Linked DNA regions of Homo sapiens: regions 2, 3 and 4 are each linked to region 1. Evidence: promoter capture Hi-C in 16 types of primary human blood cells and fetal thymus (Javierre and others, 2016). All regions are on one chromosome and are shown on one strand. Each heading gives the region's core, a stretch centred on a gene start or on the middle of the fragment in contact. The rest is flanking DNA. Distances are from core to core; before and after follow the strand shown.

Region 1 (7,403 bases), core at 3,043-5,542:
ATCATCATATAGAGATTGTGTGTACATATTCTCCTTTAATTCTTTTTTTTTTTTTAAGAGAACTAGACCAATTCAGGAAAAATTTGATAAATTATATGCTGATTCCATTGCATGGCACTCTTCTAATACAATTCCTTCTAATACTAAATAGGCTCCTAAATCAACATATAAAAACCAGCTAATAAACTCTTTGCTACCACTAGCACTGAACTGAAGAAAAATTTTTTCATTGTTTTTGAACATGGGTGTCAAATTGTCAGAGACTGCAGTACCATCTTCACCCTATTTTTAACAACCTATTTGGGTACATAAATTACCGCTTCCTTTTCCTTTCCTGTGTCATCTAGTACACCTCATTTAAACAGAATGAATGAAATGAATGTTTAAACTGTCTTGATGTTGTTAATTACTTTTTAAGATGTTTCATAACAGGAAAGTGTTTGGCACGCACTCAATAGCTGGGAATATTAACATCTTCAAGGTCATGAGGTTCTCAGTGTGTGTTTAAAATGGTTGCGGAAAGGAGTAAAAAAGTGTTTTGTTTTTTTTCATAATATTTGTCTCTGCAAAAGAGCGATAATGGTATAAGGGATGGACATGAGCTAAACCTTAGTACAGTTTACAGTGTGAAATAAGAACAGGTTTTTTTTTTTGTTTTTGTTTTTGTCGTTGTTTTTCTTTTTTTCTTTTTCTTTTTTTTTTTTTTTTTTGAGACGGAGTCTCGCTCTGTCTCCCAGGCTGGAGTGCAGTGGTATGATCTCGGCTCACTGCAACCTCCGCCTCCTGGGTTCAAGCAATTCTCCTGTCTCAGCCTCCTGAGTAGCTGGGATTACAGGTGCCCACCACCACGCCACCCGGCTAATTTTTGTATTTTTTAGTAGAGACGGGGTTTCACCATGTTGGCCAGGCTGGTCCTGAGCTCCTGACCTCAGGTGATCCACCTACCTTGGCCTCCCAAAGAACAGCTTTTTAAGAGACCACACTGGTAGTTAGGTTTGCTTCTTTGATGACATGGGAAAATTCTGAAAACTGTTTTTAATCTACTTGAGCATGTATCTGAGGCTATGAACACCAGGCCACAGTCCTACCAGCTCTCTGCCTGTGATAGGTAATACCCTTCGACCAGTAGCAACAGGGCTTGGTGGGAGGAAAGGAGAAAAAGCTCAGAGGATTTTCAGGTATTTGAGAGCTAAATTAGAAGGATTCAAATTTTATGTACTAAGCTATGTAAATCAATTTGTATCACATTTGGTTTTCTGCCTCACAGAAATTAAAAACGGTGGATATTGCAAACCCAAATATTATTTTGACATTGTAAAACAATTACATTTCAACCTGTACATTGTGATTTGTTATTAAACAAGTGAAAAGACCATAATTAGGCAAAAATATAACTAAATAATTGTTTTGGCTATAACTGGACAAAATCTTCATCGCAAACTGTCACATGAGAGATGCAGTGCCCGTGGCTGCCAATGGGCATGGATGACATTGACAGGCTAAAGACATAGCAAAGGAAGAAGGAAAACTAGAAAAAAAAGGAAGATAATAAAAAGGGAGGTAGAGGGAAGTAAGGGGGGAGAAAAAGGTGGGAGGGAAACAGAAAAGAATTTCCAAAAGATAATGTAGTGATTACCATCAATAATTGTATAAGATAGTGATTCCCATATGTTTGCATTTCAGAGTAGCTACATAAAAAAGGAGGGGTGGATGAGCTGGTTATTAACATTTTTTCCATGTAAGGACACTGAAAAGACAAAACACATATATTCTAATTTACTTTAATCTTTGCCTCCCTCTCTTTATAGTTTTTGTTTTGCCTGAACTGATGAACATTTCCTCATAGGTTAGCACTGGTATGTGCATGGGAACCGCTTATCTAATATTACCAATTTTAATATAAAGATTTAGTAGAGTTGGCCGGGCGCGGTGGCTCATGCCTGTAATCCCAGCACTTTGGGAGGCCGAGGTGGGCGGATCACCTGAGTTCGGGAGTTCAAGACCAGCCTGACCAACATGGAGAAACCCAGTCTCTACTAAAAATACAAAATTAGCCAGCGTCGTGACACATGCCTGTAATCCCAGCTACTCGGGAGACTGAGGCAGGAGAATCGCTTGAACCTGGGAGGTGGAGATTGTGGTGAGCCGAGATCATGCCATTGCACTCCAGCCTGGGCAACAAGAGCGAAACTCTGTCTCAAAAAAAAAAAAAAATTTAGTAGAGTTTTAAAGGATACTTTCAATTCATTCAGGTTTTCCTCCATTCAGTGTTTACTGAAGGCTCAGTAGGTACAAAATTTAAGTTAGCTGTCAGATGAAGAGAAAAGAATCATAGTAGGACCTGAAAAGATTGTGTCTAGCAGATGGAAAGACTTGTATGTATAAGGTAGCAGGAATGCCCAGTGATCTGCTCAAAAGCCTGGAACTGGCTCTGTTAGCAATAGAGAGCCAATGAAGGTTTTTAAGCGAGGAGAGGGATCATGAGTGCCAGGGTGTGATCATAATGTCAAAGCAATTTAAAGGAGGTGACAGGGAGATGAGCTAAAAGGGCTGTTGTAATATTGGAGCTAAGACTGCATTATAGGATCCAGAGGTGGTTGAGGTCATGGGGATAAAAAGGAGACAGCAAGTAAAGTCCTATGGAAGTGGAAATGGGAAGGTTGAGCAGTTGTGCAGGGGGGAGGGAGGAAGATATAAATTCCTTTTAAGGAAGACTTTTGTAAATTATAAGAAAGAGGGTTCAAAAATAAATTTCAGATACTTCTAGAGTATGTAAGGAGGAAGAAATTATTTTTCATGACTGTTTTAAATAATGATAAGGTATAAGCAATAAGTTTATGTAATGATGGAATTGGAAACTTGTTCAAGAGGAATTCTAGAGAGTTGAATGAATCATAAAAATCTAAAAAAACCTTCAGACTACTGGGTATGTCAGAGTAGAAGCCAGGCGTGGTGGCTCATGCCTGTAATCTCAATACTTTGGGAGCTTGAGCCAAGAGGATTGCTTGAGCCCAGGAGTTCAAGACCAGCCTGGGCAACACAGTGAGACCCTCCCTCTCCACAAAGCATAAAAAAATTAGCTGGGCGTGGTAGTGCATGCCTGTGGTCTTAGCTATTGGGGAGGCTGAGGCTGGAGGATTTCTTGAGCCTGGGAGGTTGAGGCTGCAGTGAGTTACAATCACCACTGTACTCCAGCCTGGGTGACAGAGTGAGACCCTGATTCAAAAACAAACCAAAAAAGTGATTTTTTTTTTTGGAGGGGAGATGGGGAGAAAGAACAGAGCTGTCTTTTGTGTTTATGATAATTTTGATCTTGTTTCTTAATCTGCAAAACAAAGAAGAGCATACTGGTGAAAAATAAAAGGAATGTAGCCTAGAATTCTGTTCAAATCCAGCTTCTGGCACTAGCAACTGTGTTATCTTAGTGAAGTTACTTAACTCGTCCCTCAGCCTTACTTTCCTTGTGTTATGTATAACACAGATGATAGTGATACCTATCTTGTACGGTGTGTGTGTGTGTGTGAGAGAGAGAGAATTGAATGGAATGAGATAATACATGTGAAACCCCCGTCCATGAGAGCTTGGCATATAGTAGGTGCTCAACAAATGGCAGGGACTTCTCTTGTTCTCAGCAATAACACTTAACAGAGCATTGGTAGGTCTATCCCTTTTTGGTGCTGAAAAATATTTTGCTAAAACAAGACGTATATTTGAGATTGGCTTTATGTGAAAGACGACGACATTCCAGGACACACAATTTTTATGAGGGCATTTTTAACCGGACACAAGGATCAAGCCTTTCTCGTCGTCTGGATTGCAGAGTTTTGCCGCGGGTTCGTTGTTTTTTACTATGGCTAATTTTAACGCTGAACATGAAGGGGTTAAGAAATGCCTTTACTCATGTTACATTAAGTAGCAGAAATTATAAGATAGAGGAATTGGGGAGGGAAAAAAAAAAGCCTTGGCAGCAACTCATGGTTTCCTAAGTAAGACGGCTTGTAGTTACAGTGATGAGTTGAATATACGTTCTGGCAGTTTAATCTGATCAGACTAACTTGGGGGTGGGTGCAACCCGTCGCTTCCACCCTTCGCCTCCTTTAACCAAAGCCGCCCAGAGTGCAATTGTCCAGAGTTGAAACCATGCTGTGAGTTGCAGCTTCTAATTGGAGAGGCAGGAAGCCCTTCCCTGGACAGACCCCGCCCCTCCCCGTGTGAATCGCCAGCCTGCGGGGAGGAGCTGGCCAATGCTAATGAGCGAGTTGCCAGGCGAGACAGGAACTTCTTTCCCCTTCTCTGTGTCAGGATCGCAGAAAGTATGTCCCTTCTCTCACCATGAGCTGGCTCTCCAGTTCCCAGGGAGTGGTACTAACAGCCTACCACCCCAGCGGCAAGGACCAGACCGTCGGGAACAGCCATGCAAAGGCAGGGGAGGAAGCCACCTCGAGGTAAGCCTTCGGAAGCTGAAAACAAAACAAAACCCTCTTACCTGCTCCAGGAAGAAAGTGACAGGGAAGTTGGCGTGGGGAGAAGGGAATTCCATCTGCACGTCGAGCCTGAGCTCGTGCAGCAGCAGTAGCAACGTTTGGCGTGATTTTTATGTACTTTTCATCTCACCTAGTCCAAGTCTGAAATAACCCATATGATTACTGGTGAAGACAGAGAAGAAGGAACTGGGGAGAGGGCTATATGGGCTGTCAGACTAGCTATTTAGCAGGTGCATTTGCACATGCTGAAAGATCAAATAGGTCTATCTGAAACACTTCCTTTCCTATGAAATGGAATTCTTGAATGGGCTCAAGGCACTGCCACTGGAACTGTTCGCTGGGAAAGTCTGCCAAAAAGCAGGGAGGCTGTTCACTGTACTGTACAAGCTGTTGTTGTTAGAGTGTTTTTTTTCCCCCCTCTCTTTGCTGAAAGCAAACCTCTTAGGCAAAAAGCCCAAGACACTGGCCTGTGGCAATATGTTTCACATTCTTTTGTGTATGTGGATTTTTTTTCCCCCAGGCTTTCAAAAAGGAGTTTTTGTCAGGAGATAGCACTCTGCTGCTGGAGTGAAATGTGGTTAATGTTAAATCACTTTATAGGCAGAGAGGGCAAATGTTCTATAGACCACTGAGGCGCAAAGGGTACCTTTCTCCCTATCTGTGTACTTTGTTCCATTTTCCAAGGGCTTTTTTTTTTCTTTCTCTCCTTAATGACCTTCTCACTAGCTGAACATTTTTACCTCCATCAAGATATAAATAGTAAATATTGGCCTAGAAGATTGCAAGAAGCAAATACTAACCTAATAGCCTAGAACACTAAATTAGTTATCGGTAAGCACATTTCCTCCTCAATGCTTAATGTGATAATAAAACCTTCTTTGTTCTTATGTGACTTATGCCTGTGCCTTAAGCTGAAATAATGCTGCCTTTCATTTGTTTTAAAATCTCCAAATATGAGGGAGGGAGAAAAATCAAAGGAATGGCTGTAATACTCAGTGTTAGACTCCCAGCTGACGGGAACTGTTTCTCACATAGCATCCACAGTATGTATTTCATTGAATGAATTCATTTCCAAAGATAAAAAAGATTTGGTGCTTGTGCCTTAGCTGTGTTACCATTTCATTTTCCATCATTTTAAATGACTTAATGTTAAATCATTAAATCAAGAGATCTTGAAGTGTTTTCATCCATTTTTCTGTAATGTATTAGTAATCATTAAGCAGTAAAGCAGCCTGCAACACCAACCCCATACCCAGCCATAACTTGGATTCCACATGTCAGTCAAAATTGCCAAAATTATACAAGCTCAGGACATTCTCCGACTTTAGGCTGAATGGCCTGAGGACCTGAGCTGAATCTTGGATCTTGATTGTGAGAATGGAAAGGACCTTAAGGACTGAGTCCTAACCTCTCATTTTCACGTAGGACTCAAACCCCAGGGATTAGTTAAGTTTTTGGAAGGTCTGGAGTTCTAGGCCTTTGTCTGGGGCTGCATCTCCAGTTCTGGAGACTCATTATTCTGTGTTTGCAGTGTGGGTGGCCCATACTTGAGTGGGTTGAGAGAATAAGAGAGGATCAGATCATTCTCTGCCTAGGCTGAAGCAGAACCAAGAGGCACTAAGGTGGCAGGGTGGGCAGCTGCCCACACGGCAAGTGCCCTGTGTGGGGCCACAGCTCCAGGTGAGCTCCTTTGCTGGCTGTCACGTAGCCTGCCCATACCAGACCCAACTTCCCACCACTGAATTAGTTCTAGGGATCGTTCCTGATATTGACCGGAGAAGATGGGAGCCTGGTTTGAGGGCAGGGAGGAAGGAGGGAGTAGGGCTAGTTTTCAATGGCTTTTACCCTTAAGGGCTAACGAATCAGATAAACTTGTTGTTGTTTTGGGAGATACCCTGTTTAGCCTGAAAGGATTGAGATACTGTAATTGCTATGGGGGAGGGGATGGATAGAAGGAAGGAGGATTTGAAGGTGGGATGGGGTCCTCGGTGACCACCTAAGAATGGTGATAGTGGTTTCGGGGCGGTGAACTGGACTTTGGCTTTGGCTTTGGCTGGGTTGGTCAGGTGTTGTTTTAAGCCCTGGGAAGCTGCTCCAAGGTGCAAGGTTGATGGTTGATGCCTATTTAAAGAAGTTCTCCAAAAAGTAAAAACAAAACAAAACTCTTAAAAAGGCTACATTAGGCTGGGTGTGATGGCTCACACCTGTCATCTCAGCACTTTGGGAAGCTGAGGTGGGTGGATTGCTTGAGCTCAGGAGTTAGAGACCAGCCTGGGCAAAAAAAAGACCCCCGCCCCCACAGCTCTACCAAAAATACAAAAAAAAAAAAAAAAACAAGAAACCACAAACAAACTAGAAATGGTAGTGCATGCCCGTGGTCCCAGCTACTCAGGAGGCTGAAGTGTGAGGATCACTTGAGGCTGGTGGAGCAGAGATTGCAGTGAGCTGAGATCACGCCACTGCACTCCAGCCTGGGTGAGGGAGTGAGACCCTGTCTCAAAAAATAAATAAATAAATAAAAAATAAAAGCTAAATTAGATTCTGCATTTCCTCCTACCCATTTAAAAATTATAGAAGATAGCACGGAAGTATAACTTTTCTTATCACAAGATTTTGTCTGTAAGTAATATGTTCTTTGAAATATTTAATCCAATATTTAGTTCATGAGATGAATTCATGTCTTTATAATGCCATTTATACATATGTGTATGACTTAGCGTATTTATTGAAAATTGTTTCCTTTTTTTTTTCGAGATGGAGTTTTGTTCTTGTTGCTCAGGCTGGAGCACAATGGCGCACTCTTGGCTCACCACAACCTCTGCCTCCCAGGTTCAAGCTATTCTCCTGCCTCAGCCTCTATAGTAGCTGGGACCACAGGCATGCACCACCACGCCTGGCTAATTTTGTATTTTTTTTTTT
Region 2 (7,403 bases), core at 3,299-5,798, 220 kb before region 1:
AACATCTCACAATCCCATATTGAGGAACGGTCAACAAAATACCTGACTAATACTCTTCAAAACTGCCAAAGCCTTCAAAAATAAGGAAAATCGGAGAAATTGTCACAGCCAAGAGGAACACAAGAAGACATAATGTCTAAATGTAATATGCCATCCTGGAACAGAAAAAGAACATTAGATTAAAATTAAGCAAATCTGAATAGAGTACAAATTTTAATTAATAATAATGTATCAATGTTTGTTATTTAGTTATGACAAATGAGCCATGGTAATGTTAGATGCTAACATAGAAAATTGGGTACGGGGTATATGGAAATTCATTTCTTTGCAAATTTTCTGTGAATCTAAAACTGTACTAAAATTAATAATTTACTAAAAAAACGAATCAAATATCTAAAAGCAGCAAGAGTTGATACAGTTATTTCAATAAACGACAATACGTATGTAAATATTAAATAAACAAAATTGATACTCTATTTTGATTCTACTTACTATCTCACTACTAGATTGTGTAATGTGCTTCAGTTTAGTGTAAATCCCAAATATTTTGAAGTCTAAACGATAATATAATATTAACAATAAAAGTTCTTGAGGTACTCTTGTGTCTTTTCACCCAACTCTGCGCTTACCCCACTCACTAAACTAATTTCAGGAACTTTAGGCATTTTGAAAAGTTTTTTTAACCATATGGCTATTAAAGATGTTGTATATTGTTGTTTAAAATATACTTTCTGATGTGAATAATTCTTCTATTATCATATTTTCCCCATTTTTAAATGTAGTTGGTTGTTACTCTGTGTTACAGAAACAATGTTAGATTTCAAAACTTCCCTGTCTATACAGTGTAGTCACATTTTATGCAAATTTCAAATAGTGAAAAATAAACATATTAATAAAGTCTCAGTTTATGCACCAAAGTTTAAATAATCTTAATTCCTCAAATTAAACATTGATGAATCATGTTTAAAAGCTGACGGATCCAATACATTTTAAATTGTTTACACTATTACCACGTGGTGGCGCCATGTCAGCTGGTGAATGCAAAGCCTTGGCAAACCTTGGATTCCTCCTAAATTGCCTTGAGGAACTCTGACCTCGTCGGAAGAGCCGTCTATGTCCTGACTCTATCCTCCATTTTACAGGAGAGATAACTGAAGTCCACAGAGTGAAATTATTCCCCCACTTCCACACAGTCTGTTACTGAGCCAGGAATAGAGTGTACTTCCTATCACTTGGCTCTGTTCTCTCTGTCTCTCTCACTTTCTCTATGTGTGTGTATAGATATATACACAATATATAGTATACACATATTACACATATATAGTATATGCTTATATATACTATACATTTATGTAATATATAAATATATATTTACCTCATATAAGATATATAAATAATATAAATAAATATCATAAATATATAATATATGATAGGTATCTCTAATATATAAAAAATATATTTATGTAATACATATACAAAATTATATATAATATAGATACATAAGTATATAAGCAAAAGAAGTACATATACATTCATATATTTAATTTCCACAACAACAAATTTTATGGAGTAAAATGTACCTCTTAATGTCACTTTAAAGTTCATGCATATACATATCCAAAATATATTTATAAAATCTTGACTAAGTACAATTTTCCTTCTTTAGGTCCCTGTAACTTTCTATGCTGTGATTTTTGCTTAGCAAAATTTTTGTTGATACAACAAAATTTAGGAGCCATTAGAAAAATGAGTTAGAATCACACAGTTTTACTTAGAGGTATTTTCCCAAAGTATTGTTAAATGAAAATATAAAAAGCAAAAAAAATTTGTATTAGCATAATTGCATGTTTATAAACCAAATAATGACAAAATTAAAATATCCTGCAGAGTATGTACATAAATGTACAAGTCGTATAGAGGCATTTGAATGCAGTAAAAGTATGGAATAATTAATGTAAAGTTTATAATATGAGTTATCTTTGTAGGGGGAACAGGGAAGCCACATGAGGGGAAAAGTAGGAGAGACTAAGGAGAAAACCACATAAAAAGTGGAAAAACATTGCACACATACAAAATGCCTATATGTGATCACATTTATATAAAGTTATATTTATGTAAATATATATAAAATATATAAATTTAAATAGTTGGTTTTAAAGGTACTATAAATAAGGACACAAGAAAAAAGAAAATCTAGAAAAACTATTGATGGTAAAAAATGATAGTTAAGGTAGCAGGTACCTAATCTCCTAAAATAAAAATCTTTCTACAAAGCAATTAAAAATAAGACAAAAAACAATAACCTAATAGAAAAAAATGAGCTAACACCACAGCAGGTAGTTTACATAAGGAAAAACACAAATGGCTTTTACACATCTGTGAAGATGTGTAGTCTTATTCATAATCAGGCATATGAAAACTAAATCTGTAAGAAATTTTGTTTCAAATGCATCCTATTGGCAAAAAATTAATATTTTCTAAAGCCAAGTTTGGCAAAACTGTGAAGCAAGAGGACTCTTCTATACTGTTGATGAAAGCATACATTGGAACAGTTACGTTTGAAAGCAACTTGGCAATATGTAGTAAAGCTGAAGAATCCAAACCCTGTGACCCAGCAGGTCCCAGCAGGTCTGCTCCTATGTCGATGAAGAGATGTTTACAATGATGTTCATAGTAGCATTGTCACAAAGAGCAAAAATTGGAAACAGCCTAAATGGACCATCAATAGTAGAATAAATAAATGGTTATATATTCATTCAATGGATTACTGAGCAGTAGAAAGTGAATGAATCTGAGCTGCATAAATATCATGAGTGAATTATCACAAAATAATGTCGAGGACAAAAAGCACACTGCAGGATGAATACTTGCAATATGACACTATATGAAATTTAAAAACATGCCAACTACTTATATGCACACACATATACACAAATATATGTAATTTGGGAGTAAATAAATGTGTTGCAAGATCTACATAAATACCTGAAAATGATAAATGTTAAATTCAAGGTAGCAAATACTTCTGAAATAACGAGATAGAGAAATTCAACTAGGGAAGGGTATACAGTGGCTTTCATCTGATTGGTAATGCAATTTTTTTTGACAAATAGTATATCTTATATTACTTATTTCATATTTATGATAGATTTATTGTGTTTATAATCATAACACTATATTAGTTATACTCATATTTTTGTTAATATTATTTTATAGTATTTTTAAAAGATACTCAACCCCCTCATAAGAATAGTCCTTCTTGAAATGACAACAAGAAACTATTTTTCACCAATCAGAATGCTAAAGATAAACATTGTAATAATAAACCGTTCTGGCAAGAGTTCAGGGGCACAAGCACGTTCAGTAATTGTTGGGAGAGTACATTTGTAGAACTTTTAACTATGGGATGATTTGGCAATGTTTATCAAAATTAAACGCACATTTGTACCGTTTTACCCAACTCACTTAATAAAATTTTCTCTTTAAATACACTCCAGCAAGAACACAAAGGTATGTATACAATGCTGTTCATTGCAATGCTGTCTGTGATAGCAAAGGGGCAGGTAAGATAAATGTGCTTCATCCATGCAGGAATGTTATGCAGGATGCAGGACATTAAAAAAAATGTGGTACCCACTCGATAAACTGATATGAAATAGTGACTAGGGTAAATAGTAAAAAAAAAAGCGAGGTGAAGAACATTTGTTGGGTAGTCTAACTTTCTGTAACATGGGTTACCTGTACAATTTAGAACTGGGGCTTGGGTAGCGGAGGCCAAAGAGATGAATTTTTAAAAAATATTTCCATTCATGTGTTTTCAACCTTGTATCTCTTGTGTGCATTACCATTAAATAAACTTCAAAAGAAGCAAATAAAAGAATAAATAAGATTTAAAATGAAAATAAAAACAAGAGATGCAACTCCTACATTTAATTTCAAAGATAGTATTGTCACTGTAACTTTAGTATTTTAATGAAGTCACATTACTTGCTTTATATCCAAGGCCTAAGGCTTCAATTAATTTACGGGTAATCTATTGACCAAAAGAGGAAAGTCTCATTAAAAAGTAGCATTTGTTGAGAGGTCCTAGGCCCAAAGGAGGGGCTTTCTTACCAAGACAACACACTTCCAGTTCCTTCTCAGAAGGGGATTAGGGACCATGATGATAAATTTTAATAATTTAGGTGAGGTCTCACTATTAGAGTTTTAAAATCAATTAATTAAGCTGTATCCCTGTTTGTCCTAAAAAAATTTCAAACCAACTAACAAATGAGCACAAAATACAACATAATTCAGTGAATTAAAAACAAGTGAGAAAATGAGGCAAATATTCATTATTTTTTATTTCTCCTTGTAGCTCTTGTTAATTTTTGTTTTATATACTTTGAGGCCATGTAAATATTATAGGTACATATGAATTTAGAATTGTTAAACATTCCCAGTGAATTGAAGCTTTCTTGTTATTAATTCTACTACTGCCTTTTGGCTTAAAGTCTGTTATCATTGCTAGTACAGGCTGAGTACCCCTAATCTAAAATGCTCCAAAATCTTAAAGTTTTTTAGCACTGACATGACACCGCAAGTAGGAAATTCCACACCTGACCTCATGTGATGGGTCACAGTCAAAATGCAGTGAAAAGCTTGTTTCATGCACACAGTTATTAATAACATTGTACAAAATACAATGTGTATAAAGTGTATATGAAACAAATAAATTCTGTGTTTAGCTTCAGGTCCCATCCCCAAGATATCTCTTTATGTACATATAAATATTCCCCAATTCAAAAAAATCTGAAATTTGAAACACTTCTGGTCCCAAGCATTTTAGATAAGTGATAATCAACCCGTAGTAGAGTTACACCAATTTTCTTTTTATTTAATTTGTGTGATTTTTTTCCCATTCTTTCAACTTTTCTGTTTTGTTATATATAGGAAACTACATATGGTTGCTGTTTTCTTAATATACATTGCATTTATGAGGTATGTTGTTATTGTTTCTTAGTCCATTCTGGAAGTCCGAATTTTTTTTTAATATTCGGTCAATTACCTTCATTTAATTATTTATATTTGTATTTACTTTTGCCATCTTACCGTATACATTTGATTTGCTCACCTATTTTACATTTATTTTTTTCTCTCATTTATTGAAGCCCTAGGATAAACCCCTCTTGGTTATAGTGTATCATCCTTTACATGTATTTCAAGATTTGATTTACTTATATTTTAAAAATAATTTTGTGTCTACATACATGAAGAATATTGGTCTGTAATTTTTTTGTTTCTCTTTAATGTCCCCCTCCCTCCCCTTTCCTTCCTTTTCCTCTCCCTGTTCCTTCTTCCCTTTCCTTCCCTCTCCTCCCCTCCCTCCTCTTTCTTTTTCTCTCTCTCTCTCTCTTTCTCTTTCTTTCTTTTTCTCTCCTTCCTTCCTTCCCTCCCTCCCTCCCTCTTTCTTTCTTTCTTTCTCTCTTTCTTTCTCTCTCTTTCTCTTCTTTCTTCTTTCTTTTTTGAGACAAAGTCTCGCTCTTTCGCTTAAACTGGAGTGCCGTGACGTGATTATAACTCACTGCGGCCTCAACCTCAGGGGCTCAAGTGATCCTCCCGCGTCAGCCTTGCAACTAGCTACTACAGACTTATGCCATCACACCTGACTTATTTTTGTATTTTTTGTAGAGATGGGGTTTCACCATGTTGCCCAGGCTGGTCTTTGCTCAAGTGATCTGCCTGCCTTGGCTTCCCAAAGGGCTAGGATTGCAGGCATGAGCCACCAGGCCTGGCCTCTTTTTTTCTCTTTTGAACATAATTGTCAGATTTTGGTATCACTGCTTTGGTAGCCATATAAAACAAGTTGGGAAGTATTCTTTTCCTCTATTTTCTTAAATAGTTTATGTAAGAGTGTTGTTATTCCTTCCTTAAATGTTTGATAGGATTCACCAGTAAAACTGTCTGGGCCTTTGTGGGAAACTTTCTGATAAGTAATTAAAAATTTTAATAGATGTAAGACAACTCAGATATTATAATTATTATAACCCTATATTTGTTATTATATTCATGTTGTTTGTTACTATTATTTCATAGTATTTTTAAAAGATTTTATTTCATATGGTATCAGTTTGGGTAAACTATTTTTGTCAAAAAATCCATCTATTCCATCTGAACTACTGAATTTATTGGTGTAATGTTATTTATAATATTCCGTTATCATCCTTAAGGTATGTAGGATCTGGAGTAATGATATTATCTCTTTTACTCCCAATATTAATAATTTATCTTTCTTTTTTCCTTCAACAGTTTGGCTACATGCAGATTTATCAATTTTATTTGTCTTTTTAAAGAACCAAATTTTATCTGTATTAATTTTCTTTATTGTTTGTCTGTTTTCTATTCCATTGATTTTGGCTTTCTATTATTCCCTTAAGAAAGTACTTCGAATCGATTTGTCTTTATATTTAAAGTGCATCTCTTTCAGCCCGAGGAAGCTAAAAAGTAATAACAATAAAAATAAATGAATAAATAAAGTACATCTCTTATAGGCCATATATAGTTGAGTCTTGCATTTTTTTAATTCATTCTTACAGTTTTCATGTTTTATTAGGTATGTGTAGTCCATTTAAATTTAAAGTAGTCCAGATATGGTGGCTCACACTTGTAATACTAGCACTTTGGAAGGCCCAGGCAGGATGATCTTTTGATGCCGGGAGTTCAGGACAAGACTGGGCATTATAGTGAGACTTCACCTCTACAAAAATTTACAAATTAGCAGGCATGGTGGCACAATCCTGTAATCCCAGCTACAAAAAAAAAATGTGATTAATGTTTGGGAAATGTTCACCATTTTATAATTATTTTTTATTCCTTCTTTTCTTTCTTCTTTGGGATAATTAAATGTTTTTCATCATTCAATTTTAAATTATTTATAGGCTTTTTGGCTCTCTTTGCTTTTAAATAAAAAATGCACAGATTAAAATTTATCTTCTAACACATCCTTGAAGTTTCTGTGTAGTTCTGAACACTGCACTAGAGATCCATGGCCACGACAGATGAAAGAATTGGGCTTAAGACTTGCCTGCTGAGGCAGGTCTATTGCTCAAGCAAAAGCTTCTAACCCATATTTTCTTCAGGTGCCAAGTTAAGAGACTCCTGGGTTCTAGAAGGAGTTCCTGGATGTAGACAATGGTTTGCTGCCATCTCCTAAGGTGGCCCTTCATTTCTATGTGGGACTGTATTACCTCTAAGCTCTCTAGGGGCACAGTTCTCCTGGATGTGTTGGCTTTTGAAGACCCCAGATATTCATCCATATAGGAGTATAAGACATCAACTTTGTGGTATTGACAGTCTAGCAGTTGGTGATTTGAAACCCATCTAAAAGAGCAGGTTGCTATATGCTCATTATGATTCAGTTGATC
Region 3 (7,403 bases), core at 4,473-6,972, 220 kb after region 1:
AGACAACATTGCCCACCCATTACTGGTATGGAATATAACCACAACACATGAGCTGTAAAGAGTGTAGTGACTGTGACCATCTTTGTTGTATTGGTGATAAGAATGTAAATTGGCATAGCCTGTGGAAGAAACAATTCAGGTATGTGTATTGAAAACCTTAGACATATTCATCTTTTGGCCTTATAATTTCCTAACTACTTATCTATTTTAAGAATAACTGGAAATAATGAAAAAGCTTGATGCATAGAGGAGCTCATCAGAGTATAGTTTCTAATAGTGAAAAACTGGAAACACTCTCAATAGCCTACCATGGTCTATTAAAAGTAGAATAAATTGGAAAGGCAGAGTGTTCCAGAGATAAGGAGTCAGACTTTGGAGTCTGACTCGCTAGAATAAAATTCTTACTCTGCCTTTTACTAGTGGTGTGAGTGGGTTGGTTGCTTAAGATAGCTAATTCTTATTAACTCGACTAAAAGTAGAAAGACTATATTTTACAGAGCCGTTATGAGAATTACATATAATATTGAATGAAAATTGTTTAGCCCTGGGCTGGTGAAAGTACTCATTATTATCATTACTACATAGTACTTATGCCATTTATTAAACGTTCAGTATATGTGAGTCATTGAACAAACATTATCTTTTAAAACTCTGATACAAAGTCTTTGATGTCTGTGCTGTTAATATCCTCATTTGACAGATGAGGAAACAGAAATAGTCTATGGCCAAATCACCCTGAAAGCATCCGATCTTTTCTGATCTCAAAAGCTAAGCAGGGTTGGGCCCGGTTAGTACTTGGATGGGAAACTGAGAAATAGATTGGACAGGTAGCTTTCCCAAATTCACACAGATGGTCGGTTACAGTGCTGGGATTTGAATACCAGCAGTCTGACTTGAGCCCATGCTCTAATCAAGGCTATATGACCTCCAATACTATAAAATAGTTGTGTGTCTCTGTGTGTATATATACTTAACATAAAATCATATTAGACATACACATTTATATGATGTTTAGATACAGTTTTTATTTATTTATTTATTTTTATTTTTTGGAGATGGAGTCTCGCTCTGTTGCCCAGGCTGGAGTACAGTGGCGTGATCTCGGCTCACTGCAACCTCCGCCTCCTGGGTTCAAGCGATTCTCCTGCCTCAGCCTACTGAGTAGCTGGGACTACAGGTGCACACCGCCATGCCAGGCTATTTTTTTGTATTTTAGAAGAGACGGGGTTTCACCGTGGTTGCCCAGGCTGGTCTCGAACTCCTGAGCTCAGGCAATCTGCCTGCCTTGGCCTCCCAAAGTGCTAGGATTACAGGCGTGAGCCACCGCGCCTGGCCTAGAAACAGTTTTAGTGGTGTATTACTAGTTTCTAAAAACAGGACACCAAATTGTATACAAGGTAGGACATCTACTATGCAGATAAAAGGGCCTGGAAACCAACATGGTTGCCTCTGTCATGGTATTATAAGTGTCTTTTATTCATGATTCTGGATATTTCTGTGTTTTCCAACATTTCAACTGAAAATGTACTGTTTTGTAAACAAAATTGAAGATGGAAATATAGGTAAGTCATTCAATGAAGATGTAAGAATAGGTTTAGATAGGTTATATTTCTTTCAATTCTAATATCAGAGTGTACTAGATATCCTGAATAATCTTCCTTCTGAAATGACTCAGAATACTGGGTAAAAATTAGAAAGCAATGGGGATAATATAAACACTTACATGTGTCAGAACTGGGGTGGGCGTAGGAAAGGCTGGGGTGGGAACTGGCTCAGGCTGGATAACTATTTCAGCTGGAGCTGCTCCATCTTCATCTTCACGGAGTTTCTGATGGGCACAGCGACCAATGTCAGCATTTTTGAAGGACACAGGCCTTGCAAAGTCCATGGGGCTAATAGAATGTAATAAATAAGATTTTTTTATTTTCGTTTTTTTGCTTCCTTACAATTAAGCCCAATCCCCGCATGCCTTTTTAAGTCCATTAGTGTGCTTTTCTCAGTCTAAGTTGAAGATCCTCATTGTTTCCCTCCTCCCCTGCATAGCTGTAGACAATGTAGATGCATTGGGACCCCTAATAGCAAGAAATAAAAATAAAAAATTAGTAGTAGTAATGAGGAGATCCACTTACACAGAGTTAATAACAAGATTCCATATGCAGCCTTCAAAAGGAGGAATATTTCTGAGTGGGGAAGGTTGAAATTCAGGTGGAGCACCCCCAACGAAAAGCTTTTTAACTTCGATAGGCTGTTCAACTGTCAGGTTTTGCATGTATCTTCTGTTTTCATCCACTTGAACTGTAAAGATGCTGATAAAATATTAAAAATAAACAAGTATAAGTCACATCTGATTCAATACAGTTGGAAATCAAATTCTTTCCTGCCACCCTTCACCCCTCTCAACCATAGCTTTTAAGGGAGCCAAAATTGGATGCTTAGGAATTCTACACTAAGCAAACGCTGTTCTCAGGATCTCGTTCCATGACTCCCTCGTTCACTCTTCCTGAAAGTTTACTGAAACCAGGTCATGGCGCACTGCAACATTAGCCTCTTGTAGAGCTGACAACAGCGCTGTGCAGCCCAACACATGAGCCTGTGAGAACTGAGGCTTCTGCAGTGTGCAGTAATGTCTAACCGTATAAGGGTTGGCAGGTTTAGCAAAGCATGGGGTCTTCCTTGGGTTGTGCTGGCTATTATCTTCTTGCTAGGGAACAAACCATGCTCCTGAGAGCTTAGATTGCAGGAATCAACAGCAAACACTTAAAGCACCTTTTATAAAGAATGTAGCTGATGGCTTTTGAATAGAAGAGGCAGGCAAGGACACCCTGCTAATTGTTCCTTGCAATGATTTTCCTTAGTGGCTGTTTCATTAATTTTCCTAATTTGCTTATGAGAGAGAACTCACACACTGCTAATTGAGAACCTCATGCTACTTATTTACAACAATCCTTGGATCCCTGGGCCAAGAATCAGAAGGAGACAAAGAGTTCTGATGAAAATGACCAAAGGCATTTTCTCTTTTGTTCCGGAAGCAAGTTTTGAGTTTCGGTCTTAACAGTCATCATGGTGCTATTAGTCATAAGCATTAGTCACTAGCCTGGGGATCATGAATGGATTACTGAAAACTTACTTCATATCTGGAGAGAAAACCGGAGTACTTGGATGGAAACCTCAGTCCTAAAGTACCCTCTTACTTGACTTTATAAAGAAGTAAAACCACATGTAGAACTGGAAAAAACAATAAGCCAGGGTAAAGATGCTCTGAATTGGCACTTTACAAGTAAGATAATTCAAAAGTAAGAGAAAGGGACAAAAAATGGATTTCGCTGTGGCTCAAAAACGTCACTGTTAAGGGGGTGAAGAAGGGACCGGTAAAATTTAGTTTCAAAGAGAAAATAGGGGGAAATGACATACTTTTGAGGTTTCTTTCTTTACCAAACTATGGAAAAATGTGTTGGCAAAACCCAGGAGGTTCAGCTTCCTTGCTAAGAGTGTCGGTGGTTTCCTGAGACGAGAATTTCAGAAAACCACTCACTTCCGGGTATGTGTGACTCACTGAGAAGCCCCTCCCCTACACTCTTTTTCCCCTTTAGCTGAAAGCAGCCTCTTCTTAGCAACATGATATCACAGGGCTTCTAAGGTTTTAATGAAGGATATAAGCCTCTGTTAAAGATTGTCCAAGGAGAGTAAATCTCTGTTCTTGATTAGAATTTTAAAAAGCTAGAGGCCTTCCTCTTTCTGGTGTAGCCTCTCTCTGTAGTGTGGTTCTGCCACAAGGACCATCATAGTGACCCTTATTTTTTTTAAACCAATTCACAGGGTGGTGATGGAGAATGAGTGTGGGCTTTCAGGAGGAACATACTGGAATTAAGTACTAGTGTGGAAGCTTACTAGCTGTGTGACCTTGGGCAAGTTATTTAATCATGCTCAGGTCCATTTCATTCATTTATAAGATGGAGATAAAAATACCTACTTCAAACAGCGGAAAATATTAATTAAGGGATTGCCCTGAGGCTGTATTACTTAAAAAGGGCATTGCTAGAAAACTACAGCTAAATCCTGCTCCTATTTTACCTTTTAGGAACATCAAATCTAGATCATTTCTTTAGTTTTTATTGAGAAGGACATTGCCAATATGTCCATTATGATTCTGGTGTGTTTTCCATTTTTAAAAAGTATTTATTTAACAGCTTTTTACTGAGGCCTGCTATGTGCAAAAAGGTACATTAAACTTTGTATTACTTTAGTATTGTAATAGGTCAGCTTTATTTTTTTTTTTTACAGTTTCAGTGGCTGATTCTTAGAGTTTCATAATTACTTGATTACTTATACCCTATTTCTTATTTGTTTGGAATGTGGGTTTAAGATTTTTTTTAAAACCATATCAGTTGGATTGCATACGTGGAAGAAGATATTAAGAGAAATGTGTCCTAATGTTTGTAATTTACATAATAAATAGAATCTAATCTTTTTTCTGTTTGAACATACTTTGGATGTTAAGAAAGAAAATATTTAGGGTTCAGTGTTAAAATCTTTATCTCATTCTGGAAACCCCAAATGACTCCTAAAATATCTCACCCTACTTCCTGACCTTTAGCCTATTTCTGTACCTGTGTGAAGAAAGCTTTCCCAGAAGAAAAACTCAGTTCAGTTGCTTGTCCTATTTGCTTAAGTAACTACTTCAGGCTCTTAGGGTTTGATGTTTTTGTCCAGTAAGAACTGCTGGCCACCAAGGCGGATGCCAGGAGAAGGATCAGAGGACAAAGCAGATATAGGAGGCAGAGGTCACTGGAGTGCCAAGAAATTAGATACCAAAGTGACTAAAGGGAGATTTTTCCAGATGAAGGGGTGGAAGGGAGAGAGAATGAGGGAGGAGGAGTAAAGAGAGGCAGAGGACAAGGGAGAAGGAGCTTCTTGAGAAGCTTGGCCCCCAGTTTGGTGAAAATCCAATTATTTTGTGAGGCGGTATTAAAGCTATCATTTTGTCCAGGATTTTAGGAAAAGAAATGATGACTGACATGCATAGTCTGAAAATCTGAAAAGTGTTGGGATAATGCAAATATCTCCAAATTAATAATCATACATCATAATCAACATTTAGTAATATAAACCTTTATGGTCACACAAAAATGTAAGAATAATCTATTGGCTGTGCATAGATGGAGGTATTTAAGTCAAATATATCATCTCATTTAATACCTGGTCCTGTTATTTGTAGTACATGATTTTGGGCAGGTTAGTTAATATTTTCTCATCTGTGATGAAAGGATGTTATTACAGATCTCACATACATTCAGAACAATGAAAACAAATCATCTTTGTCTAGTATGTGACACAAATCATGCCATAGAATAGGCATATAAAGCATTAAAAATTTTTTCTGGGTGAAGTTCTCATGGTCACTTGCGATCTCTGGTCAATCAGTTTAATGTGGCACTTGCTTATAGAGTAGATTGCATTTTAACCTTAGAGTGCCGAATGAGCCATTATGGTAGCAAATGTATTACTGTTTTGGCACAGAGTTCAGTGACTACACACTAATATGTCATATATTATCCTGTAATTAACAATGAATGGCAAAACTGTTCGTTTATATGGCCAATTAACTAAATGACTGGTTTCCAGTGATGTACTATATACTGAGCTTAATCAAATAAAGGTTGGATTGATGGTCAACAGCTGTGAAGTTGGCATAATAAAATGCCCTTCTTGAAGAAGCACCTGTTAAAAGGACATAGTGGCATAGTGGTACAATAGTGTAATGCATTTGGGAATTCCAGAATTCTTTCTCAACAAAATAACACATTTTGAGTGATTTCGGTAAACTAATTTCTCAAATCTGCAGTTACTTATTGAAATTCCTTAAAGTTTAAATGTTTTTGTTTTGTTTTGTTTTTTCCGAGTTGGAGTCTTGCTCTGTTGCCCAGGCTGGAGTGCAGTGGTGCGATCTCGGCTCACTGAAACCTCTGTCCCCCTGGTTTAAGCATTTCTCCTGCCTCAGCCTCCAGAGTAGCTGTGATTACAGGCGCCTACCACCATGTCTGGCTAATGTTTTTGCATTTTTAGTAGAGACGGGGTTTCACCATATTGGCCAGGCTGGTCTCGAACTCCTGACCTCATGATCCACCTGCCTTGGCCTCCCAAAGTGCTGGGATTACAGGTGTGAGCCACCACGCCCGGCTAAAGTTTAAATCTTTTAAAAAGTCCTTTCCGCAATGAAAAGGATTAAAGTTTGTCAAAGGGCCTAACATCTAATCTAGAAGACATGTGAAACCAGGATTCTAAAGCATTCTAAGATTCAAATGAGAGCATTCAGTTTGCATTTCTCCTCAGAGACCATGACTACAATATCTGGCTGTTAGATTAGTAAAAGTTCTCAGTTTGTCCAAATAAATGATCCCTCATTTGTCTCGATCATGGTTTCTAAACGTCTCAGTAGCCATTCTGCATGAACGCTTTGTATCAATTCATCCTACAGCCTAATCCTCTACCTAATAATAATAATAATAAAAACTGAGGAAAGCTTTGTTGTTTACTTAGAAGGTAAGAAATCTTTATTGCTTATCTAAATGTTTTCCCCAAGAGGATAATTAGTAAATGTAGGTCTTTCACTGCAGGATAGTATTGGCTTGGCTGAACTACTGCTACATATTCATACTCGTTGCATTTAAAAGTATCCTCTGTGTTTTGAGGCCTCATCAAATTGGATTTCCAGTTCTTTTCTATGTCTTCAGTCTGATAAATGGATTGCTGGCTTGGAGGTCTGAACCCCTGAAGTCTCTGGGCTTCTGTTTCTTTTTTCTCTAATTGTCCTTCTAAACTAATTATCTCTCTGAGTTGTCATACAATATTTTGATGAAAAATACAGATGACTTTCCTAATAAAGTAAGTATAAAGTATTGCAGCATTCTAAAGAAAGTCATCAGTTTGTGCATGAGTAAAGCCAATTCCCTGGCCCAGGGCTGGGGCAAGCACTCTGGTAGATTTGTAAAAAGGTGGCCAGGCTCAGGGCAGCAGTCATTTTCCTCCCCTCCCTTGATTCTGTTCCCTCAGAAAGCCACTCTGCAGGGACCCTGCAAACCTTGGGAAGGGGGACAGGGACAAGATATGCACTTAATAGGCTCAATAGGTCCTGCAGCTGCTGCCACACTCTGTATCTGTGACAGCTAAGCAGCTGCCATAACTGCTTTGGAACCTGAATGAGATAGAAACCGCCAAAGCCTGCTGGCTCCAGTGGAGCTGATTTGTGAGTTTTGCTGTGTGCATACCTTATTTGAGGAGGTAATATTTAAGAGGGGCAGAGGGAGGGATTTTTCTTATTTATAGCTTCAGAAAATGCATTTGGTTTTTCCAAAGGTGGAGATAACTGCACGAATAAAAATGTTAAGGGTAGAACTCCTAAGGGC
Region 4 (7,403 bases), core at 3,406-5,905, 190 kb before region 1:
TAAAATTGTCTTCTGTGCTTTCCTAATTTCCACATTTCCATTTATAATCCCTCTTCTCAAACTTTATAAAAGTGAACAACTCACCTTTCCTGAATTGAATTTTACTTTATCATATTCTTAATGTTTGAAAAAACTTCTGAGGCACCAATAAAAGGGCGGTGGGGCAAGGAGCAGTTCCAAGTATTGGTATCAGTATTGACAAAGTGAATAACGCAAATGATTGGTTAGCAAATTTTTTTTGTTGAGAGTTTCCCTTTTCAATTATTTTCATCAAAATCCAGTGAGGATCTAATAGAGTTCTTAACAAATAGATTATTAAAAACTAATTTTCGATGATAAATCACTATGGAATTTTTGTTATATGTCTCAAAAGGAGTTCAAAGAATTGAATAACAGAGCCACAACAAACTCCATCCAGTTCCGTCTACTTATTTAGGTTAACTGTGTTTCTCAGGGCCTACATTTGTAAAAACGAAAAACAGAAGTGCCATTTTTAATTTTAGTAATGAGTAATGATCATACATAGATACAGCCCCATTTATTTCATTAAAAGATGCATTGCCAATAAATTTTATTCAACACATATTTATCAAAGTTTTAATAAATGTTTGGATCAGTTGTGCACTAATAAAAACGATAACTCAATCCAGACTGAATTTTTTTAATGCTTAGAGCCTCATGTTCACAAAATTTTTAAATTTCAAATACTATACTGAAAGTGTTATAGGCTAATAAAAGACTTTTAAGCATAAAAATGTATCATAAATATATAGGTAAAATTCTCGTGAAGGCATGGATTAGAAGTATGTGTAGAAAGAGTCAAGGAAAAGCTTGTTTATATATTTGCATTTCTATAGACAGATAAAACTGTTATGGTAACAAAATGTTTGACTGGATATAATTTAAAAACTGAAGTTATTGCTTTATTTTTAAATGCTGGTGTTTTAAACATATGGATATGACATATTCTCCATTTTTATTTTTATTATTTATCTTATTTTATTTTACTTTTAGACAAGTCTTAGTCTGTCACCCAGGCTAGAATGCAGTGGTGTGAACAGAGCTCACTGCAGCCTCAACCTCTCGGACCGAAGCAATCCTCTCTTATCCTCCTGAGTAGCTGGCTCCACAGGTGCACACCAACACATCCAGCTAGTTTTTAAGAAAGTATTTTGTATAGATGGGGTGGGCGCATCTCCCTTTGTTGCCCAGGCTGATCTCGAACTCCCAGGCTCAAGTGATCCTCCAGCCTTGGCCTCCCAAAGTGCTGGGATTATAGGCATGAGCCACCCACCATGTCTGGCCAGAACTGAGGCACTGAAAACAATGCCCTATTTCTTACTGTGAGTAAGGAACTAAGGTTTATATCTTTTGGTTCTATCCAAATTCCTCTGCCTGTGCTTACGGGCTGATCCCTAGAATTGCATGGTTGTCTAATTTTTTATGGAAAAACCATCTTTTCTTTTCTCATACTGGAAATTAAATTGTAATTTGATCTTATTTAGACCAGGTAGCCAATAAATATTTGAATGCTGTAACCAAGGCAACTAACGAGCCAGCCAATTGACCAGTCAATCAATTATAGATGAATACAGATTTCCAGAAACATTTCAAATTTTATTTCTGTCATCAAAGTGCCTACAATACAGCATGGCAACTGTACTTACAATTCAAAGAAGTGAGGTCTAAAAGTCATTATTTGAGTTTGAAATGCAGACAGCAATATTTGGTACAATACACACTTTAACCAATAAGTATACACAACATATATGTATATGTGATATATAAACATATGTATGTGTATGCATATATAACTGTGTGTGTGTGTGTGTGTGTGTGTGTGTGTGTGTGCACGTGACCCTTGAACAACACAGGTTTAAACTACTATGCAGGTCCACTTATATGCGAATTTTTTTCAATAAAAGTTACATAAAGTGCGCCTGCCTCTCCTGCCTCCCCTTTCACCTCCTCCACCTCTTCTGCCTCTGCCAGTCCTGAGAGAGCAAGACCAACCCCTCCTTTTCCTTCTCCTTCTCAGCCTATTCAACATGAAGATAACAAAGATGAAGACTTTTATGATGATCCACTTCCAATTAATGAATAGTAAATGTATTTCCTCTTCCTTATGATTTTCTTAATAACTAATAACCTTTTCTCTAGCTCGCTTTGCTTTAAGAATACTGCATATAACACATATGATATGCAAAATATCTGTTAATAGACTATGTTTTTGCCAAGGCTTCTGGTCAAGAATAGCCTATTCGTAGTTAAATTTTGGGGGGAGTCAAATGTTATCTGAGGGTTTTCAACTGCAGGGCATTAGTGCTCCTTGCCCCCAAGTTGTTCAGGGGTCAACTGTATGTTTTTATTAAGACAATTATCCTCTCTAAGGCTGGCTTCAGGGTATGGTTAGCCACTGGTCCTGCTAAACAGTATAGGTAGTAGAACAAATATAATTCATATCTCAGGTGATCTGCTTACAGGGTAACAACCTCCAACAGAGGAAAAACCTTACACAACGGAGGAGACCAGCAAACAAATCTGTTTCTACCACTTGCTTGTTGACACATTCAACGAGGAGCAGTTAACTCATCTTACTCAGCAGATATAGAACAGTTTAGGTGTTCTTGAAATCACATGATGAGTTCTACATGTACTCACGCTACATGGACTCAAAGATGCCTACTAATTGTCTGCAGCAGAACCTTTACAACACAATGTCTCAAAGTTAGTTTGCCAATGATAACCCAAAAGTGCTCAATCTAGAATTTATTTCCTTCATTAAGAAATAATTTGAACTTAACTGTAACTTTACAGAGTAAATTATTGAATTTGGCTTCTGATAAAAATAGAAATTCTGAATATACAGCATCATTTGTTTCATTTTGGATAAAAATTTAAAATGAATATCCTGAGATTGCTGAAACTGCCTTAAAATCTTTTGTTTCATTCCCATTAACATAGCTTTGTGAGACTTGTTTCTCTACTATCAGTTGTTAAAATTAAAGTAGGTCTGGCATCGTGGCTCACGCCTGCAATTCCAGCACTTTGTGAAGTCGAGGATGGCGCATCATCTGAGGCCAGGAGTTCAAGACCAGCCGAGGCAACAAAGTGAGATCTCTGTCTCTCCGAAAAAAAAAAAAAAAAAGCCAGACATGGTGGCACACGCCTGTGGTCCCAGCCATAAGAGGCCAGAGAATAGCTTCAGCCCAGGAGTTTGAGACCAACCTGGGCAACATAGTGAGACCCCCAAGACCCTCATCTCTACAAAAAATAAAATATTAGTGGGGTGTGGTGGTACATGTCTGTAGTCCCAACTACTTGGGGTCTGAGGTGGGAGGATCACTGAGCCCAGGAGGTCAAAGCTTCTGTGAGCCATGATCGCATCATTGCACTCCAGTCTGGGAGACAGAGTGAGACCCAGTCTCAAAAAAAAAAAAAAAAAAAGAAAGAAAGGGAAAAAAAAAGAAATTAAAGTAGATTAGATATGTTAACAAGTAAGAAGCAAGCTTACTTGTCACATTAAAAACTGTATGTGGGTAGTTTAATGTATGTAAATAGTGTTTAACTTGGGAAGTTGCTTTTCATTCATATTTTTGTTTAGTTACAATTGTGAAATGACAAAAAGTTATTGGCAAAACAGTGATTTTTCTGTATTAGTTGTCTACATACATATTTTCACTGAATAATATGGATAATTTTTGTAATTCTTTCATTTTTAACATTTGTTCCAATGGCATTAATTAAAATATAATTTTATGTCTACAGGATCTAATAATAAAAAATTGGAATTATATCTTATATGTCTTTTAAACTTTGTTCATTTTATTTATTTTTTAATAACTCAATGTTATTCATATTTTCTAAAACCATTAGTTCATGACTGATTCAGAGTAAAAAACATACACACAAAAAAACTGGAAGTTAGCCACACTGAACTAGGAACTGAAAGTCTCACTGAACTAAGAGACTTTCTGAGTCTCTGTTTTCTGTTCTATGAAACAGGAATGTCAATACTTTAGAAAGATACTGTATAATTGAATAAAATCATGAGTAACACATTCCTGGTCTCTATTAGTCATTCAATATATGTAATCTTTTATGGCATATGCATTTAGACTATTTTAATAATAATATCTAGCCTCCATAATGTTATGTACTATTCTACATTCTTCCTGTGTATTAACTCATTCAATCCAAGTCCTGTGAGATGAATAATATTATTAGCTTCATTTGACAGGTTAATAAGCTAAGGGCCATAGTCAGTTTTCACTAGGTAATGCTGTAATAAGAAACAACGTCAAAATTCCAATAGCTTCTAACAATAAATACTTATTTCTCACATATATTATTTTGGTGGCTGCACCTCACTTTCCTTAGCTCTTCTCTGTGGGTCTTCTCATTCCAGGCCCCAGGCTGAAGGAGTAGCCCCCTCTTCTGAGGGGACACATCATTTCCTTGGAAGAGGGTAAAAGCAAGAGAGATGGTGGAAACCCACTGCAGATCTTGAAGCTGCTTGCTAGATATAGTATACACCATGTTTACTCACATACCACTGGCCAGAGCACACTCATGGCCAAGAACAAGGTCAATAGAACAAAGAAGTATCATCCCCTTAGAAGAAGGAGAAATGATTATTCAGGAGCAATAATAGTCTGTCACAGTTACGCTGTCTTTTTTTGTCCCTTTTGTTCTGCTATAACAGAATACTTGAGATTGGGTAATCTCTACAGCACAGAGATTTATTTCTGAAAGTCTTGGAACTAGGAAGTTCACGGTCAAGGGGCCCACATCTGGTGAGAATTGTCTTGCTGCATCATCCTATGATGGAACGCAGAAGGGAAAGAGGGCATGTGCATGAGAGAAAGTTGGAGAGTGGGGGAGAAGGGACTGAACTTATTTTATCAGGAACCTACTCCTGTAATAGTGGTGTTAATCCACTCATAACTGCAGGGCCCTTGTGACATAATCACTATTTATTTATTTATGCATTTATTTATTTGAGATGGGGTCTTACTCTGTCACCCAGGTTGGAGTGCAGTGGCACAATATCGGCTCACTGCAACCTCCGCTTCCCAAGTTGAAGCAATTCTCCTGCCTTAGCCTTCTGAGTAGCTGGGATTACAAATGTACGCCACCACACCCGGCTAATTTTTTTATTTTTTTATTTGTAGTAGAGACGAGGTTTCACCGTTGCCGAGGCTGGTCTCAAGCTCCTAACCTCAAGTGATCCACCTGCCTTGGCCTCCCAAAGTACTGGGATTACAGGCATGGACCACCACACCCAGCCCTAATCACTTCTTAAAGGTCCCACCTCTTCAGGCTGTTGCTTCCAACACATGAACTTTGGGGGACACATTAAAGTCACAGCACACAACTTGTGAGAAATTATGCTAATATTCAAACCTAGCAGTCTAGCACTGAAGTCTATTCACATAGCATCATCTCTCCTATTCCCAAGAAGGTTGCATCAGATGGAGAAAGAAAAATCCCAGCAGTGCTTTCTCTCTCCTATATCCAACATGGTATAAAAATTGATGACTATATAGAATCCATGAAGCCAGACAGAAAGCCCAAGGACAAGAAGTTCAAGGTCTCTCAGGCCTATAGAGTTTCATCATCAGTGTATTTTCAACCATAGAGAGAGATGCCTAACTTGGAGAGCACAGATGAGATACTTAATAAATGTCCATGTTCCAGTTCCAAATAATGACAAATGTTAGAATTTAAGGTCAGTATCTGCTATTCTCATTCTGTTTTCTCTTTTCTTTTAAATGTTACTTAAGACAAAAGAAAGCTTAACTCCTCAAAAAGTACATTTGGCACTGTACTGTTAGGCTTGTTTCCAAGTAGTAATATTATTAACAATATGCTGAAGATACTGCATTAACCATCTATTTTGCACTGTCTCATTTAATATGCATATATGATATAGTGCATTTATAATTTTCTCTTTTGTTTAAGTCTATGTGTAGATTGTTTGCCACCTAGTGGCAGTTGTTTTCAACTCAAACATTAATATTCATGACCAATTCTAATTAGTTTGGCAATGTGCTTTTTTTTTTTTTTAAGGAAAGATTCCAAAGTCATAAAGTGTTTAAAAGTGTTGACAATGACATTATTCTGCTCTAGCAAACTTTAAAAAAAGTACCTTGCAAATTTGGTTCATATTTAATCCTTGACAATGATAGATGAGGCAGTGTATTCAGAAGTCATTTCCTGTTGCAAGAAGAATGTAGAGAATGATAAAATGAACATTTCAATTTTTAGCAAATAATACTAGGATGTTCTTTGGATGTGTTGGTTTTCGGTTTTACATTCAGTATTGCTTGGCAAAATATATACACATAGCTACTAAATTGACTTATCTCATGCGTATGTTCACCTATGTAACTTAAAAGAGTTAATCAGTTAGTAGTGATGTTTTAATTGTTAACATTTTATTAAAAGTTATCTAGTCAAAATCTCATAAGAGCCTAGGCAGCAGGACTGAAATAATTTCCACAAATAATATAAAAACAACATTCCACGTTTTACAAAAACATAAAATCCCAAACTTCCGTATTTAATGTATTTGAATATATTAGAATGGTAGGAGGAAAGAGACATGGAATCATGAAGTGGATATAAAAGGGAACAAGTGAAGGAATGAATTAACGACTAAGCTAACAGAAAGGAGCTTAGAGGCAGGGCGCGGTGGCTCACACCTGTAATCCCAACACTTTGGGAGGCCGAGGTGGATGGATCACCTGAGGTTAGGAGTTCAAAAAGGGGCTTAGAGGATAATGTGTCTTGAACTGAAAACTCAGTGATGATGAAGATCAACTAAATCTCTAAATGTGAGGTCCAAACAATAATGAGGGTGGTTTTACATTCAGGAATCAAATTTAAAAGTATTTTTTTCAAAAACGAAATTTTCCCTTTCAAGCAAAGGAGGTATTTCTCTGAAGTACAGGAGATACTTATTTTAGTTGGATGATTTGGGGTTTGGGATCGTTGTAAACAGTCTGAGGTTATTTATATTTCAAGTTCACCAGGTCTTGAGATTTTGAATATACGGTTATTAAATGGACAAAGTTTTGAACTGAAAGGTAACTGTCTGATACAAACACTTGGTAGAAATAGAATAAAAGAGAACAGAGATTTAACAACAACAATAACAAAAACCCCAGAGATATTTAAGGAGAGAAATAGCTGGCCCACTTGGTTTGGGTCAGCATTTCTCAAATGTTGGCTGCTTCCCCCCTCGTAAAAAAAAAAAAAAAAAAAAAAAAAAAGATGTCGGGCATTGCTCCATAGGAAAAGATGGTGTTGTTGTAGGGACACCACCTACTCTCTCCATTTTGCAAACTCACAGAGAGCATGAGCACATTAAAGTCTCAGAGATGGCCTGCATTAAATAA

The links. The method cuts DNA at HindIII sites, captures the fragments that hold promoters and counts their contacts. A CHiCAGO score of 5 or more calls a contact.
Region 2: a fragment that was not itself captured here is called in contact with the fragment with the promoter of ARHGAP18 in region 1 in 1 of 17 cell types (erythroblasts); the score reaches 6.0 in erythroblasts.
Region 3: a contact is called between a fragment that was not itself captured here and the fragment with the promoter of ARHGAP18 in region 1, in 1 of 17 cell types (monocytes). The highest score is 5.1, in monocytes.
Region 4: a contact is called between a fragment that was not itself captured here and the fragment with the promoter of ARHGAP18 in region 1, in 3 of 17 cell types (M0 macrophages, monocytes and M1 macrophages). The highest score is 6.0, in M0 macrophages.

What each region holds. Positions count from the first base shown.
Region 1 is chr6:129,707,066-129,714,468 of GRCh38, reverse strand. It overlaps ARHGAP18 (Rho GTPase activating protein 18), which reads left to right and starts at 4,292. Exons shown (of 15, transcript NM_033515.3): 1 at 4,292-4,445. The coding sequence starts at 4,333. RefSeq lists a silencer at 3,939-4,018. The HindIII fragment of the contact is 10,321 bases long and covers 1-7,403 here.
Region 2 is chr6:129,930,364-129,937,766 of GRCh38, reverse strand. LOC105377999 (a long non-coding RNA gene) reads right to left here. Exons shown (of 8, transcript XR_942986.3): 6 at 43-155. Among named protein-coding and RNA genes, the nearest start is that of TMEM244, 73 kb to the right of the region's middle. The HindIII fragment of the contact is 188 bases long and covers 4,455-4,642 here.
Region 3 is chr6:129,486,804-129,494,206 of GRCh38, reverse strand. It overlaps LAMA2 (laminin subunit alpha 2), which reads right to left. Exons shown (of 65, transcript NM_000426.4): 57 at 2,130-2,306; 58 at 1,724-1,892. It overlaps LOC102723409 (a long non-coding RNA gene), which reads left to right. Exons shown (of 8, transcript XR_001743860.2): 8 at 1-1,725. Among named protein-coding and RNA genes, the nearest start is that of ARHGAP18, 220 kb to the left of the region's middle. RefSeq lists an enhancer at 2,436-3,635. The HindIII fragment of the contact is 1,601 bases long and covers 4,922-6,522 here.
Region 4 is chr6:129,892,489-129,899,891 of GRCh38, reverse strand. The region is part of intron 4 of LOC105377999 (a long non-coding RNA gene); the gene reads right to left. Among named protein-coding and RNA genes, the nearest start is that of TMEM244, 35 kb to the right of the region's middle. The HindIII fragment of the contact is 2,288 bases long and covers 3,512-5,799 here.